2 separate regions of the Homo sapiens genome follow, and region 1 is linked to region 2. Evidence: promoter capture Hi-C in human tissues and cell types (Jung and others, 2019). All regions are on one chromosome and are shown on one strand. Each heading gives the region's core, a stretch centred on a gene start or on the middle of the fragment in contact. The rest is flanking DNA. Distances are from core to core; before and after follow the strand shown. Region 1 holds the start of LOC105377889 (a long non-coding RNA gene). Region 2 holds the start of ANKRD6 (ankyrin repeat domain 6).

The links. The method cuts DNA at HindIII sites, captures the fragments that hold promoters and counts their contacts. A contact is called where the count stands out against the background at its distance.
Region 1: a contact is called between a fragment that was not itself captured here and the fragment with the promoter of ANKRD6 in region 2, in 2 of the 25 tissues and cell types used here (dorsolateral prefrontal cortex and mesenchymal stem cells).

Annotation. Positions count from the first base shown.
Region 1 is chr6:89,510,895-89,517,777 of GRCh38, reverse strand. All of the region lies in intron 1 of ANKRD6 (ankyrin repeat domain 6), which reads right to left. LOC105377889 (a long non-coding RNA gene) reads left to right here and starts at 5,597. Exons shown (of 3, transcript XR_001744257.2): 1 at 5,597-5,671; 2 at 6,825-6,883. The HindIII fragment of the contact is 3,304 bases long and covers 3,742-6,883 here.
Region 2 is chr6:89,429,896-89,436,678 of GRCh38, reverse strand. It overlaps ANKRD6 (ankyrin repeat domain 6), which reads right to left and starts at 3,527. Exons shown (of 16, transcript NM_001242809.2): 1 at 3,304-3,527. LOC124901360 (a long non-coding RNA gene) reads left to right here. Exons shown (of 2, transcript XR_007059675.1): 1 at 1-3,262; 2 at 4,092-6,471. RefSeq lists a silencer at 3,256-3,735. The HindIII fragment of the contact is 2,888 bases long and covers 2,433-5,320 here.

The DNA of each region.
Region 1 (6,883 bases), core at 4,144-6,643, 79 kb before region 2:
CATCTACTCTGTTTAGCAATTAACTGTCATAAGGACAAGACAGTTTTCTCTTTTAAAAAGTATCCCCACTGACGGGTTACAGGTGGTCAGAATAAACATAACTATCAAGTTTTTCCTATAAATTATAATAATGATCATGTTGATTAAACAATCTATGTGGACTATAGGTCCAAATTTTTTCATATATAATGGTTCCATTACATTTTTTCCCCACTCTTATGTTTTTAACAAGTATCTCAACAACTTCTTTCGACATTATACTACAACAAGGAAAACTAATAATGGGCACAACTTTCAACCTACCAGAAAAACATCAAATGAGTTTCTTGAGTCTATTATTCCAATAAAAGAGGCCAAAGTTTATTCTATTATGTGCCTTTTCACAATGTATTAAAAATTACACACTATCCCTCTATAAAGAAAGAACTGCATTCCACCAATTTATTCTGAAATAGCAATTAAAATCTAGAAACAATGCAATAAAATTATTAAACTACTATTAATTTTTAAATGTTACAGATAAATTAATTTATGTCAGACCAACTGTATAGGTTTCCTGTGGCTGCTGTAACAAATTACACAAACATGGTGGCTTAAAACAGCAATCTGGCCAGGCGTGGTGGCTTACGCCTGTAACACAAGCACTTTGAGAGGTCAAGGCAGGAGGGTAACTTGAGCCCAGGAATTCGAGACCAGCATGGGCAACATAGTGAGACCCCATCTATACTAAAAATCAGAAAAATCATCTCGTTTTGGTGGTATGCACCTATAGTCTCAGCTACTCAGGAGGCTAAGTGGGGAAGATCACTTGAGCCAGGGATATCAAAGCTGCAGTAAGCTATGATTGTGCCACTGCACTCCAGTCTGGGCAACACAGTAAAGCTCTGTCTCCAAAAAACAAACCAAAAACAAATTTATTCTCACTGTTATTGGGGTCCTCCAGAGAAACAGAACAAATAGGAGATATACAGATAGATATGGATATTGAAAATCTAGAATGAGGCCAGGCACAGTGGCTCACACCTGTAATCCCAGCATTTTGGGAGGCCAAGATGGGTTGATCACTTGAGGCCAGGAGTTTGAGACCAGCCTGGCCAACACGGCAAAACCCCGTCTCTACTAAAAATACAAATATTAGCTGGGAGTGGTGGCACGTGCCTGTAAACCCAGATACTTGCAGGAGGTTGAAGCAGGAGAATCGCTTGAACCCAGGAGGTGGAGGTTGCAGTGAGCTGAGATCACACCACTGCACTCCAGCCTGGGCAACAGAGGCTGTGTCTTAAAAAAAATCTAGAATGGAATTGGCTCCCACAATTTTGGAAGCTAAGTCACACAATCTGACCCCTGTAAGCTGGAAACCCAGGAAAACCAGTGGTGTAAATTTGAGTCTCAGTCTAAAAGCCTGAGAACCAGGATCCCTGATGGTTGTAAGTCTTAGTTGAAGGGCAGAAGATTGATGTCTCAGCTCATGGACTCAGGCAGGGAGAAGTCAACCTTCTTCTGCCTTTTTGTTCCATCAGGACTGGCCCTGAGGGGTTGAATGATCCCCATCCACACTGGGGAGGGCCATCTGCTCTACTCAGTCTATCCAGTCACAGGCTCATCTCTTCCAGAAACACCCTCACAGACACACCCAGGAATAATGTTTAACCAGGTATCTGGGTATCCCATGGCCCAGTCAAACTGACACACAAAATTAACCATCACACTCACAGTTTTGGAGGCCAAAAGTCTGAAGTCCAGTTGTTGGCAGTGCTGTACTCCCTTCAGAGGCTCTAGGGGAAAATTGTTCCTTGTCCCTTTTAGCTTCTTGTGGCTGCAGATGGTCCTTGGTTCAGGCCACAACACTCTAATCTCTGCCTTGGTTTTCACTTCACCTTCTCTTCGTGCGTCTCTGTCTAATTTCCCTCTGTCTTTCTTATAAGGATATATGTGATTGCACTTAGGGTCCACCCAGATAATCCAGGAGAGGCACCTTCTCTCCAGATCCTACCCTAGTAATCCAGGAGAGGCACCTTCTCTCAAGATCCTATCCAGATAATCCAGGAGAAGCACCTTCTCCCAAGATCCTACCCAGATAATCCAGGAGAAGCACCTTCTCTCAAGATCCTGTCCATATAATCCAGGAGAGGCACCTTCTCTCAAGATCCTTAATAACATTTTGGGGGGCCACATAAGGTAATATCACTCATTTATCATTTAAGGTAATATGCACAGGTTCTGAAGGTTAGGAAATGAGTATGTCTTTGGCAGGGCAGACATTTTACCTGCCGACCATACCAATCCTACCACCAGTAACAACCAGAAAAGCTCAACAAAACATTGAACAAACAAAAAAATCTGTGTGAAGACCAAAGACCCAAGTCCTTGCAAGAACCTAAGTATTCAAGATCATGAAGGAAAGGGTGGTGCAAAGAGGTAAGCCAAATGTTTGAGGACATGTTTTCCTTTGTGGCATTTGCTGATTTGCAAGCAGCTGTGAAGTTTAGGGAACACAAAGGTAGAAAAACTGAGTAAATAAACACTCCAGACTTCAGTTGGACACCCTGAAAAGGGCTAATCATCCTAGAAATAAGGACATACTGGAAAGACACTAGCTTCATAAAGACTGATGCCCAGCTCAGAATCAATTCAAATGAAAGAAAAACCACAGTGACAGGAGATTTATAGTTCATGTATCCAATTAAGGTCTGATGTCCAGAAGACATAAAGAATGTCTTCAAAATCAATAAGAAAAAGATAATCTAATAGGAAAATGCTCCAGAGTTTGAAAAGGTAATTTCACCAAACAGGTTATCCAGACAGCCAATAAGCATATGGAAAGGTGCTCAACTTCAAAAGTCATCAAGGAAATAGGAAGTAAAACTACTACGCCCAGACAAGAAGGACTAAAATTTTAAAAGACTGGAAACACCATGGTTGACACAGATCTGGAGCAATGCTAACTCTTTTAACACCTGTGCCTGAGGATGTAAACTGGTATAACTGCTTTAGAAAACTGTTTGGTAGTGCCAAACATCTATATATCCCATGCCCAAACAATTCCAATTCTAGGTATATAATCAACAGAAATACAAACATGTACACCAAAGGACATATGGGGAATGTTCACTGCAGCATTACTCATAATAAACTATAAATTATTGGTAATCCATCTAATCATAGAAATGAAGTGAACTATTTCCACAAAATATATTATGACAGTCTTTTGAGGATATCTTATGCCCAACATTTTAATTCCATTTACGGCAGGGGTGTCCAATCTTTTGGCTTCACTGGGCCACATTGGAAAAAGTAGAATTGTCTTGGGCCACATATAAAATACACTAACACTAACAATAGCTGATGAGCTTAAAACAAAACAAAACAAAACAAAAACTCCAAAAAAATTTTTTTTTTTGAGATGGAGTCTTGCTCTGTAACCCAAACTGGAGTGCAGTGGCACAATCTCAGCTCACTGCAACCTCCGCCCCCCAGGTTCAAGCGATTCTCCTGCCTCAGCCTCCCAAGTAGCTCGGATTACGGGTACATGCCACAATGCCCGGCTAATTTTTTGTATTTTTAGTACAGATGGGTTTCACCATGTTGGCCAGGGTAGTTTTTAACTCCCGACTTCATGTGATCTGCCCACCTCGGCTTCCCAAAGTGCAGGGATTACAGGCATGATCTACCGCACCCGGCCCTTCATAATGTTTTAAGAAAGCTTACGACTTTGTGTTGGGCCACATGAAAAGCCATCCTGGGCCATATGGCAGCCCACTGGCCACGGGTGAGACAAGCTTGATGTAAGGTTTAGCTACTTAAGTCATTGGAATGTGACAGTCTGATAATTCTTGTTTTCATAAATTGGAACATTAAATTTTCCCACATTATACATTAAAAAATTTATCTATAGAAATAGTGAACGCATTCTGAATTGCTTTGCCATGCCATAAATAGGGAGAGATTGCCTTGTTCTTCACTTTGCTCTCTCTTTGTGTGTCTCTGTGAAGCTCACTGCCACCTAAGACTAACATTAATGCCTTTCTGTTCCAGAATGTAGTTAACCAAAATATTTAGGTTATGTTCTTAAGTAGTTTATTGTTTGGTAATTTAACAGCAAAGTTGAAAATGAAATTTAAAATACAGATAATTTTTTAAAACTGTAAAACAACCAAAATGTACATAAATAGCAGAAGGGATAAACTGTGATATATGTTCATACTACATAAGAATGTAAATCAATAAACTATTACTATTTATAACCATGTGGATAAATCTTGCAAATATCCTGCTAAGCAAAAGAGGTCAGATACAAAAAGGATATGCCATATGATTCTCCTTATATAGAATTCAGAACAGGCAAAAGTCATCGATTGCATTATAAGTCAAGAGAGTGATTTGGAGGGGAAAGCAGGTTAAGGATTGGGAGGGGGGATACTGGAAATTTGGCAGTATTCAATTTCCTGATTTGGGTGGTAGTTACGTGATGGCATTCCCTTTGTGAAAATTCATCAATCTGTATTTTTACGGTTTGTGCACTTTTCATTTGGTATATATTTTAATTGAAAGTTAAAAGAAAAAACAGCCATGACAGCCATGCACAGTGGTTCATGCCTGTAATCCCAGCTACTCAGGAAACTGAGGAGTTTGAGACCAGCCTGGGCAACATAGTGAGTCTCTGTCTCTAAAAATACTTTTTCAAATTTAGCCAGGCATGGTTGCACATGCCTATAGTCCCAGCTACTCAGGAAGCGGAGGCAGGAGGATCCCTTGAGCCCAGGAATTCAAGGCTGCAGTGAGCAATGATCCCACCGCTGCACTCCAGCCTGGGCAACAGAGCAAGACATTATCTCTTAAAAAAAAGAGAGAAAAAGAAAGAAAAAAAGGAAAAAGAAATAGAAAAGAAAAAAACAGCTATGAACTATGAGCTTCCAGATCTGAATTTTCTGAGTGGAAACCATTCACTCTTCTAAGACAGACAACAAAGATTATTACTTCTTCTAGATTAGCTATGAAATCTATCCCAATCAGTATCTGATTAAAATTGATATTTATGTGCAACATGCTGCACAGCCATTTGCTAAGCTTATTGGCATTTCTGACACTTCCAGGGAATCCAATTCCATGCTTCACTAATACTGGTAAAGCACTGAAAATATCTCCTCCAGCCAAAGTCCAGGTTTACCCCAACAGACAAACACAGATGCTGCTCCTTGTGCCCACCCTGGCCACAGCCCCACACTCCAGGCTGCACAGCTGGCTGCCAGTGACAGTATGGGATCCCCAAAACCCATGACTGCACTCCGCCCCCTAACTTAGAAACAGACACTCATTGTTCTGAGACCAAAACCAAGAGGTGGCTTAGATTTGCCCCATGGTAGTTCATGTGGGAGTGGAGAGAATAGAGTGCAATGACAAATCTGTATGACACTTAACACTGCAAACTTTCCTTTGTTCATCAGGAGACCCAACCTCTCTACTGGATGTTTTACAAATATAGCATTGACTGGCGTTTAAGACTGTTGCTGTAAGTTTATGTTGGGAGTAACAACGATCAAAGCAGAAGATAATTTTTACTTTTCTATACCATCTATGCATGGAAGTCTATCTACATGGCCCATACAGGCTTATCATATGACCTTGTAACTGCTTTCATGTTGACTTCTCCAGGACTCAAAGAACAGTCAAGGTAACCCCACAATCAGGAGCATACCTAAGACCAAACTGTCAGGCTTAGGCCTGTAATCCCAGCACTTTGAGAGGCCGGGGTGGGAGGATCACCTAAGCCCAGGAGTTCGAGACCAGCCTGGGCAACAGAGTGAGACCTTGTCTCTACAAAAAAAAAATTTTTTTAATGTTTTTAAAAATTAAAAAAACAGTCAGGTTCTTTGGTCTCTGCTGTGGCCACATTTCTCTATTCACTTCCTTTGACTTCCCTTTCAGAAGATGACAAGCACAGGGAATTCAGTTATTTGCCACAAAATCATTTTGCAAATCATAAGGTAATCCTAAAACAAACAAAAAAATGTAGTTCTTTTGTTCCCTAGGGAATAGTGACATCAACAATATCAGGACCAAATTAGATTGTATCAAAAGCCATAGCAAACATTTTCCTGGGCCAGGCATTGCACTAAGCACTTTCTATGCATTATTCTATGTAACTCTTACAAATTTATTCATATTACTATTCATATGCCCATTCTACAGATTAGAAACAAAGGCTCAAAAAGGTTTAGTAACTCACCTGGAGATTCACAGCTAATAAATGGCAGATCTGGCCCTCAAGCTTCAGAGTGCCTGACCCCACAGACTATGCCTTTAACCACTAACTACTCTTGCCTCCTTGTAGTCTTAAATAATGCAAGATGAGTACTTAAGGCAAACAGGGTACCCAGACTTGGGTCTGCAGGTAGGGGTAGAAAATCCAGACCAGCAAGCCAGGAATGGCTGCAGCACTACTCAGAGCAGGAGCAGGAATCTCCCAATGCCTCAGTGTGTGCCTCTGAGAAATGGCTACAAGCCATAGCCCTGGCCAGGTAGCCAGGGAAGGGAAGCCAGGAACCTGAGAGGAGAAGGAATCCAGTGAGGTCCTGAGAAAAGTGTGTATTTGGGAAGAGTCTACGGAGGAAGAGGAATCGGGCTGTGGTGGGCCCACTCGTACCCCTTCATGACCTCAGCCTTGCAATGCGGTGTTTTATAGATGACTTACCCCATGTCAAGGGTAGCTGCTTTCACTGGGCCTATGATCACATCCTTATAATAAGCCCTGACACAGAAGTCTCTGGATGAAGAGGAGATGTTGTCAGCAGGTGATTCTACCGCTCCCTTTATTCCCTGTCCAGGGCAATGCTAAGCAACACCAGCCATCACCATCCGGCTCTCCACTCCGACCTTCAGTAAC
Region 2 (6,783 bases), core at 2,278-4,777:
CCCTATTCTGTCCTCCCCCTACCCCTGGTAACTACCATTCTACTTTCTGTCTCCATGTGTATGACTACTCTAGGTACCTAATATAAACAGAATCATACAATATTGTCCCTTCTGTGACTAACTTATTTCACCTAGCATAATGTTTTCAAAGTTTACTATTTTGGACCCCCTGACTGGGTGTTTTGCAACTATAGCAAATTAAAATGGGCAATGTAGAAAATCTGAAAATTTCAATGGAAACTAGTATACCAAACATGTCTGGACACTGCTGAACCTATTAACTGGAGGTAGTTTGCAGTTTCAACAGTAGATCATGTTACATTCCTATCCAAGACAATACATCTTTGCAAAGCTGGGTTTTCTGTGGCTGCTGTGATAAAAGCCAAATGCTGCGGAAATATTAATGTGAAACAGGAAATGAGAGTGGCAGTGTCCAACACGATCCCAAGGTTTGAAAAGTAGTATAGGCACACACATACGGTTAGTAATTATGACTTTAAAGGATGTAAAATATTTTTTCTCTCAGTTTATGTATATTATTTTTTCAAACAACTTCTAAGTAAATACTCAGTTGTTTGAACCTAACTACTAACTACTGAAACCTAAGGGAATTGTGAAAAAATTACTAACTACTGAAGCCTAAGGGAATTGTGAAAAAATTAACTCAGACACTAAGGGCTCCATGAAACCAAGTTTCAGAATCTTTGCCTTAACCAAGAAGTAACAAAACAGTGTAAGATTCACCAAGGAAAGCCATGTGACCTTGAAGAAATAAAACAAAGACAATAACACAAACATATCAACCAGGAAGAGGAATTTGGGTTGTTAAAACCATTTTTAAAGGTCACTCTTAGCTTAATCCTTCAAATCCCACACAATGCCTTCTGGATAATTTGCATTTTTAAAAAAACTTCTAAAACGCACGCACCCAAATTACTGTTTTCCCACTTCTTAGGGACTCAAGCAAAGCTTTTAAAATCACAGCCATCAATCTATGTTGGAAGAGACTGGGTCTCCCCTACACAGACAGAACACACCTTCGGGATCCGTGCCAGGGAGACAGGAGAAACTTGGAAGAAGACAGAGACTAAAAGATCCCCCGACTTTGAGACTTTCGGCTTTTTTGTGGTTTGTATCTTACCCTCAATAGCCTGCTTTTAAGTTCAATAACAATGCTCCTTGAGAAAAAAAGAAAAATAAAGAATGCTCCAGGTTATTGTGGAAATGCTTGTTGGGAAACTTCCTTTCCTCAGGGTTTTTCATATAAGCAAGGGAAAAAGTTAACACAACATCCAGAATAGTGGTTCCTTGGGTGGGAGGCGAGAAGTGAGTGGAAGGCAATGGAGAGGGGTACTCAGGGGCTCCAGGGGCCTGGCGATGTTCTAGTTCTTCAGCCGGGTGACTCGTACTTGGGTGTGATCTATTGTTATTCTTTACATTGCACTCTAAGGTTTATACTGTCTGAGTGTATGATGTATTTCACAGTGGCAGCACCAGCATCTCTATACAAGAAGGAGGCCTTGGGAGTTGGAAGTGTGCCTTGTCTCTAAGCTGAGTTGGATCGCAGGCAGTCTGCTTTTACATGGAGCATATGCTTATCTGGAAAGGCTTTGGGGAGGCTGATGAGTTTAAGTGGGAGACTAAGATTAATTTTTGGTGCCACCATGAAAAAACAAGGAGTTAATAAATTCACATTTTTAAAAATTACCATTGGTTTATACCTCCCAACACTGCGACTAGTTGTTTTCTGGTCTCTTTAATTCCTCTTCATCCCTCTTCTACCCTTCCCCCATGTCCAGTATGACCTAGAGGGCAGAAAATACTCCCCAATTTTAATTTGTATCCCTAATTTTTAAAAAATTTTTTGTTACCATATGCTAAACAAATACTAAAGATGACAAAGTGTAACATGTATCGGTATAGACACACCTACTACACTCAAGAACAAGGCTGCAGACCAGTACAGTGGCTCACACCTGTAATCCCAACACTTTGGGAGGCTGAGACAGGAGGAGTTCGAGACCAGCTTAGGCAACACAGTGAGACTCTGTCTCTAGTAAAATAAAAAAATTCAAAATTAGCCAGGTGTGGTGGTCCCAGGCTGAGGTGGGAAGATCGGTTGAGCTAAGGAGGTCAAAGCTTACAGCCTGGGCAACAGAGCGAAACTCTGTCTCAAAACAACAACAACAAAAACCCCGCCAAGGCTGCTATTGGTGTTTTGGGGATGAGAAACCCCCAATCAGTATACCATGGATGGGACCACCTTGGACCCAGGTGTGTTTGTCTTCATTGCCCAAGTTCTTTCCACTTACACTGGCCTAACAGAACCTAAGCATGAATGAATTCAACATCCAACAGGTTCGCAAAAGGTGTCTAACACACAAGAGTACAATGCCAAGCATTTCATTCCCATCACTTCACTGCATGAACACAATACTACGAGGTTATGTACAATACCTGCAGTTTAGAGTTCTAAAAACTAAGGTTTAAAGAAGTGGGTTTTCCAAAGTCACACACCTAACAAGTGGTGGAGTCAGAACTCCATCTCACGGGCCCGAAGTGGCTCTTTACTACCACGTGACCCATCTCATGCTACCTCGCGGGGGAAACATTCTTGACCAGCTTTGAGACATTCAAGTCCCTCTTGGGTCACAAATAATGCTGCACTTCCCCTCCAGTCCCCGAGATCTACCGGAAGCAACACACTTAAAAGCCCAAGATAAGCTTGGGTGAGCTGATGTCTGGACCCAAACCAGACAGCACGCCGACTCTCTGGACCCCGGGAGATGCCACTTGCTGAGGCTTCGCCGATGGGGCTCCTGAGGGGTATCGGCCCCTCTCCTGCGACTGCACCCTAGTGCTGTCGTCCAGGGCGGGGAGGGACGGGGTCATTCGGAGGCGGCCGCAGGCCAGGGACCTACCCTCCTACGCGCCGCAGACCGCGGGGTACTCGGACCCCCGCCCCCACCGCCCTTCCTTCAAACTGCAAGCGAGCAGGAGAACGAGGGACGAGCCCCAGAAGAAAGTTCTCCACCTCCCTCGCCCGAAGTTCCATATTCCAGGGAGGCAACTGATGCCAGGCGAAGAGGGAGGCGCCCCGGGGGGACCCCCTCGCGCCGGGCGTTTTCGGAGGCCGCAGGCCAGGGGGCGAGGCGCGGTGTCCGGGTCTCCTCCGCGGGCAGTCGGCGATCCTGGGGTGCCGAGGGAGCAGCGCCCCCTTCCCCCGACAGCGTCCTCCCCGACCTGAGGCGCCCACCCCGGTGTAAGCGGGGGTCCCAGGGAGCCGGCGAGGTCGCCTGGTACCTTTCTCTCCCGCGCCGGACGTCCGCGCCGCAGGGACCAAGGCCGGCGACACGGTGGGGGGCGAGGGGCGAAGACGGGGACTGGCTCCCGCTGGCTCCGGCGGCCCCAGGGCCTCGGCGCCGCCCAGCGCCGTGCCTCCAGCCGCCCGCGCGCCAGGCAGCGCTCTCGGCTCCTGCGGGTTACCTGTGGCCGAGCCCGCCGCGTCCGCCGCCGCAGGGCCCTCTGCCCCGTCCCGCCGGCCCCGCCCCACCCCTGCCGGCGGCTCCTACGCCGGTGCCGCAGCGCCTCCCAGCGGCGAGCCGGGGCACGGCAGGGACCCTCGCGAGAGAGAGGTGGCACCGCGGAGGCCCTGGGGCTGGCCCCGATCTGCAGCCCTCTCCTGGGTGGGGCCACCGCCTTCTGAAGAGTGGGAGGAAGGGGGCCTATAGTAGGGTGAGGTTTTCCGCGTGGGGGTTGCCAGGAAGTGTATTGGGAGGGGAGGAGAATTAGCAGGAGGAACCTCCCACCTTCACTCAATTCGTGGCCAAGTGGATATTTCAATATAACCATAGCTCACTTAACTGGGGCTGCTCAGTACAAACTGAACAACAATGATGAATGACCCAGATTTATTGGGGTAGCTGGAGAGGGGAAAGGAAGCCTTTATTTCTAACAGCTTGACTATAAGTATCTTGTTGGAATCATCCCATATGGAAATGGCAAAAGCATTGAGCGAGCCTGACCCCCATATTCATATCACACTTTACATACCATTATCTCAGTCTGGTTTTGTCTATTTTCATTCACAGCCACTTCTTCAATACCTAGAAGAGCTCCCTGAACACAGGAAGCATTCAATAAGCTACTGTTGAATACATGTAAGATGGATGGGATCTCATTCCACCCTTTGAAGAAGCATGGACAGGTATCTGCTCTCCAAAGGCGGAGAGATGGAAGAGGAGGCAAGCAGCACCCTAAAATGGACTATCAATCTTACCTGAGGTTTTGGGACAAGCTTATCACGAATCTGATTTTTTTTTCTTTCTTGCTTAAAATTTTTTTTTGAGACGAAGTCTCACTCTGTCACCCAGGCTGGAGTGCAATGGCACCATCTAGGCTCACTGCAACCTCCGCCTCCCAGGTTCAAGTGATTCTCCTGCCTCAGCCTCCTGAGTAGCTGGGATTACAGGTGCCCGCCACCATCCCTGGCTAATTTTTGTATTTTTAGTAGAGATGGGGTTTCACCATATTGGTCAGGCTGGTCTCGAACTCCTGACCTCGTGATCCTCCAGCCTCGGCCTCCCAAAGTGCTGGGATTACAGGCATGAGCCACTGCACCCAGCCGACTTTTCTTATTCCCTCTGAAACAGGCCTGGTTTCCAGGAGAAAAGAAACATGATGATTTCTTCCTTTTCCTTAAGATGTTTGTTTCCCTCTCTCCTTCAGGGATCATTAGGCAGGAGAGATCCCAAGAGCCTGTTTCCACACTAGGAAGGGGAAGTTCTTGATTTTCTCCTACTGCTTCTGAAATTTTCCCAACCCCATAGTCACAGCTGCAGTTTTACCTAACAGGATGTGAAATCTCTCTTCTGAGTATCCTTTGGCCTTTTCCAGACTTTTTTTTCCCCCTTAAGATGGGGCCTTGCTGTGTCACCCAGGCTGAAGTGCAGTAGCCCACTGCAGTCTTGAACTCCTGGGCTCAAGCAATCCTCCTGCCTCTGCCTCCTGAATAGTTGGGATTACAAGTGTGCACCACCATGCCCAGCTAATTTTTTTATGTTTAACACAGAGGAGGTCAAGGCTGGTCTTGAACTCCTGGGCTCAAGTAATCCTCCGGCCTCAGCCTCCCAAAGTGTTGGGATTACAGGTGTGAGCCACCGCGCCCAGCCCTTCTTCAGATTTGTGCCCCATTCCTGTTGCTCTACACCTGGAGCTGATAGAAGAACACATTTCCTTTCTCTGCTGGCTTGTAGCTCCAGGTTTCTCTCCAGGCAGGTTACTAATGAGTTCCTAGATAACCCTCAAAGTCAAAGTTTGTACACATGACCTTTCTTTTTATTTTTTGAGATGGAGTTTTGCTTTTATTGCCCAGGCTAGAGTGCAGTGGTGCAATCTCGGCTCACTGCAACCTCCACCTTCCGGTTTCAAGCAATTCTCCTGCCTCAGCCTCCCAAGTAGCTGGGATTACAGGCGCCTGCCACCACGCCCAGCTAATTTTTTTGTATTTTTAGTAGAGACGGAGTTTCACCATGTTGGTCAGGCTGATCTCGAACTGCTGACCTTGTGATCCACCTGCCTCAGCCTCCCAAAGTGCTGGGATTACAGGTGTGAGCCACCGCGCCCAGCCACATGACCTTTCAATGTGATCATTTCTCTCTTGTACTTTTCCACATTGAGTTTTCCTAGCTAGTCCCTCGAATAAACTTCCAAAGATGCAAATGCTCAGTTTCCCTGATAGGCTTTTAAAACATCACCAGAAAGTCACATTGAGATGAGATTTTAAGTTATATTTGTGGGTAGTCAGAGCAATGACCCCGAAAGAAACAGAAAGCCCAAGCCAGCCTGCAAGACATGTGAGCGCTCCTGGGAACTGACTGGTCTGCTTTTGTTCCCAGACTTTGATTAATGGGGATTCCTGGCAGGAGGTCTCATGAGAGCCAAAGCAGGCAGTGGCTGAGCTGCTTGGAGATCTTGCTTGCTTATCTCCAAGTGGGCAGACAGTCTTTGGGCGACCAACGAAGAAGACTCCTAAATCTCCCTCTTTATGAGAAGGGCTCCCAGGCTGCAGCTCTGTTCTTGCCCCTACGTTCAGCTCAATCACAGCCAGCCTCTTATATTCACCCTAGCTCACCCTCCTTCTGCCTTGTGAGAAAGAAGTTTGCTCTGCAAATGATCATTTTCACTGCTTTGTGATAATATAATCTGCTCCTATTTTCAACAACATGTCTTTAATGAGCTGACTGCATTAGCTGTCTTTCATGTTGTTAGCTTCAACGCAGCCTTCAACACACCATTCTGGCTTCCATCCCTGCCACTCCACTGAAACTGCCTTTGCTAAAGCTTCCACTCAAGGAAGAACCCTTCCATCTGCCGCTCTATAATCATATCCTTCTCTTTCAGAGGAAACCACCATCCTAAGTTTTGTGTTAATAATTATGTTATCACAAATATATGTGTCCCTAAACACTACATGGTTTGTTTTTGCGTGTTTTTGAGCTTTTTTAAAATAGAATCATTCTGCATTATTCCCATGCAACTTGCAGCTTTTGCCCAGCATTATGTTTCTGAGATTCACCTATCTGATTTCTCTGTTATATAGGTATTTTGTTGTAAAAACATAACACAATTTAATTACCCATTCTACTTTTGGATGTTGGATTGGCTCCAGTTTTTGCTATTGCAAACAGTGTTGCTGTGAATATTCTTAAATATTTCTCCGATACATGTGTGTAAGAATGTTTTTTAGGATATATACCTAGAAGTGGAATCATCAGGTCTTAA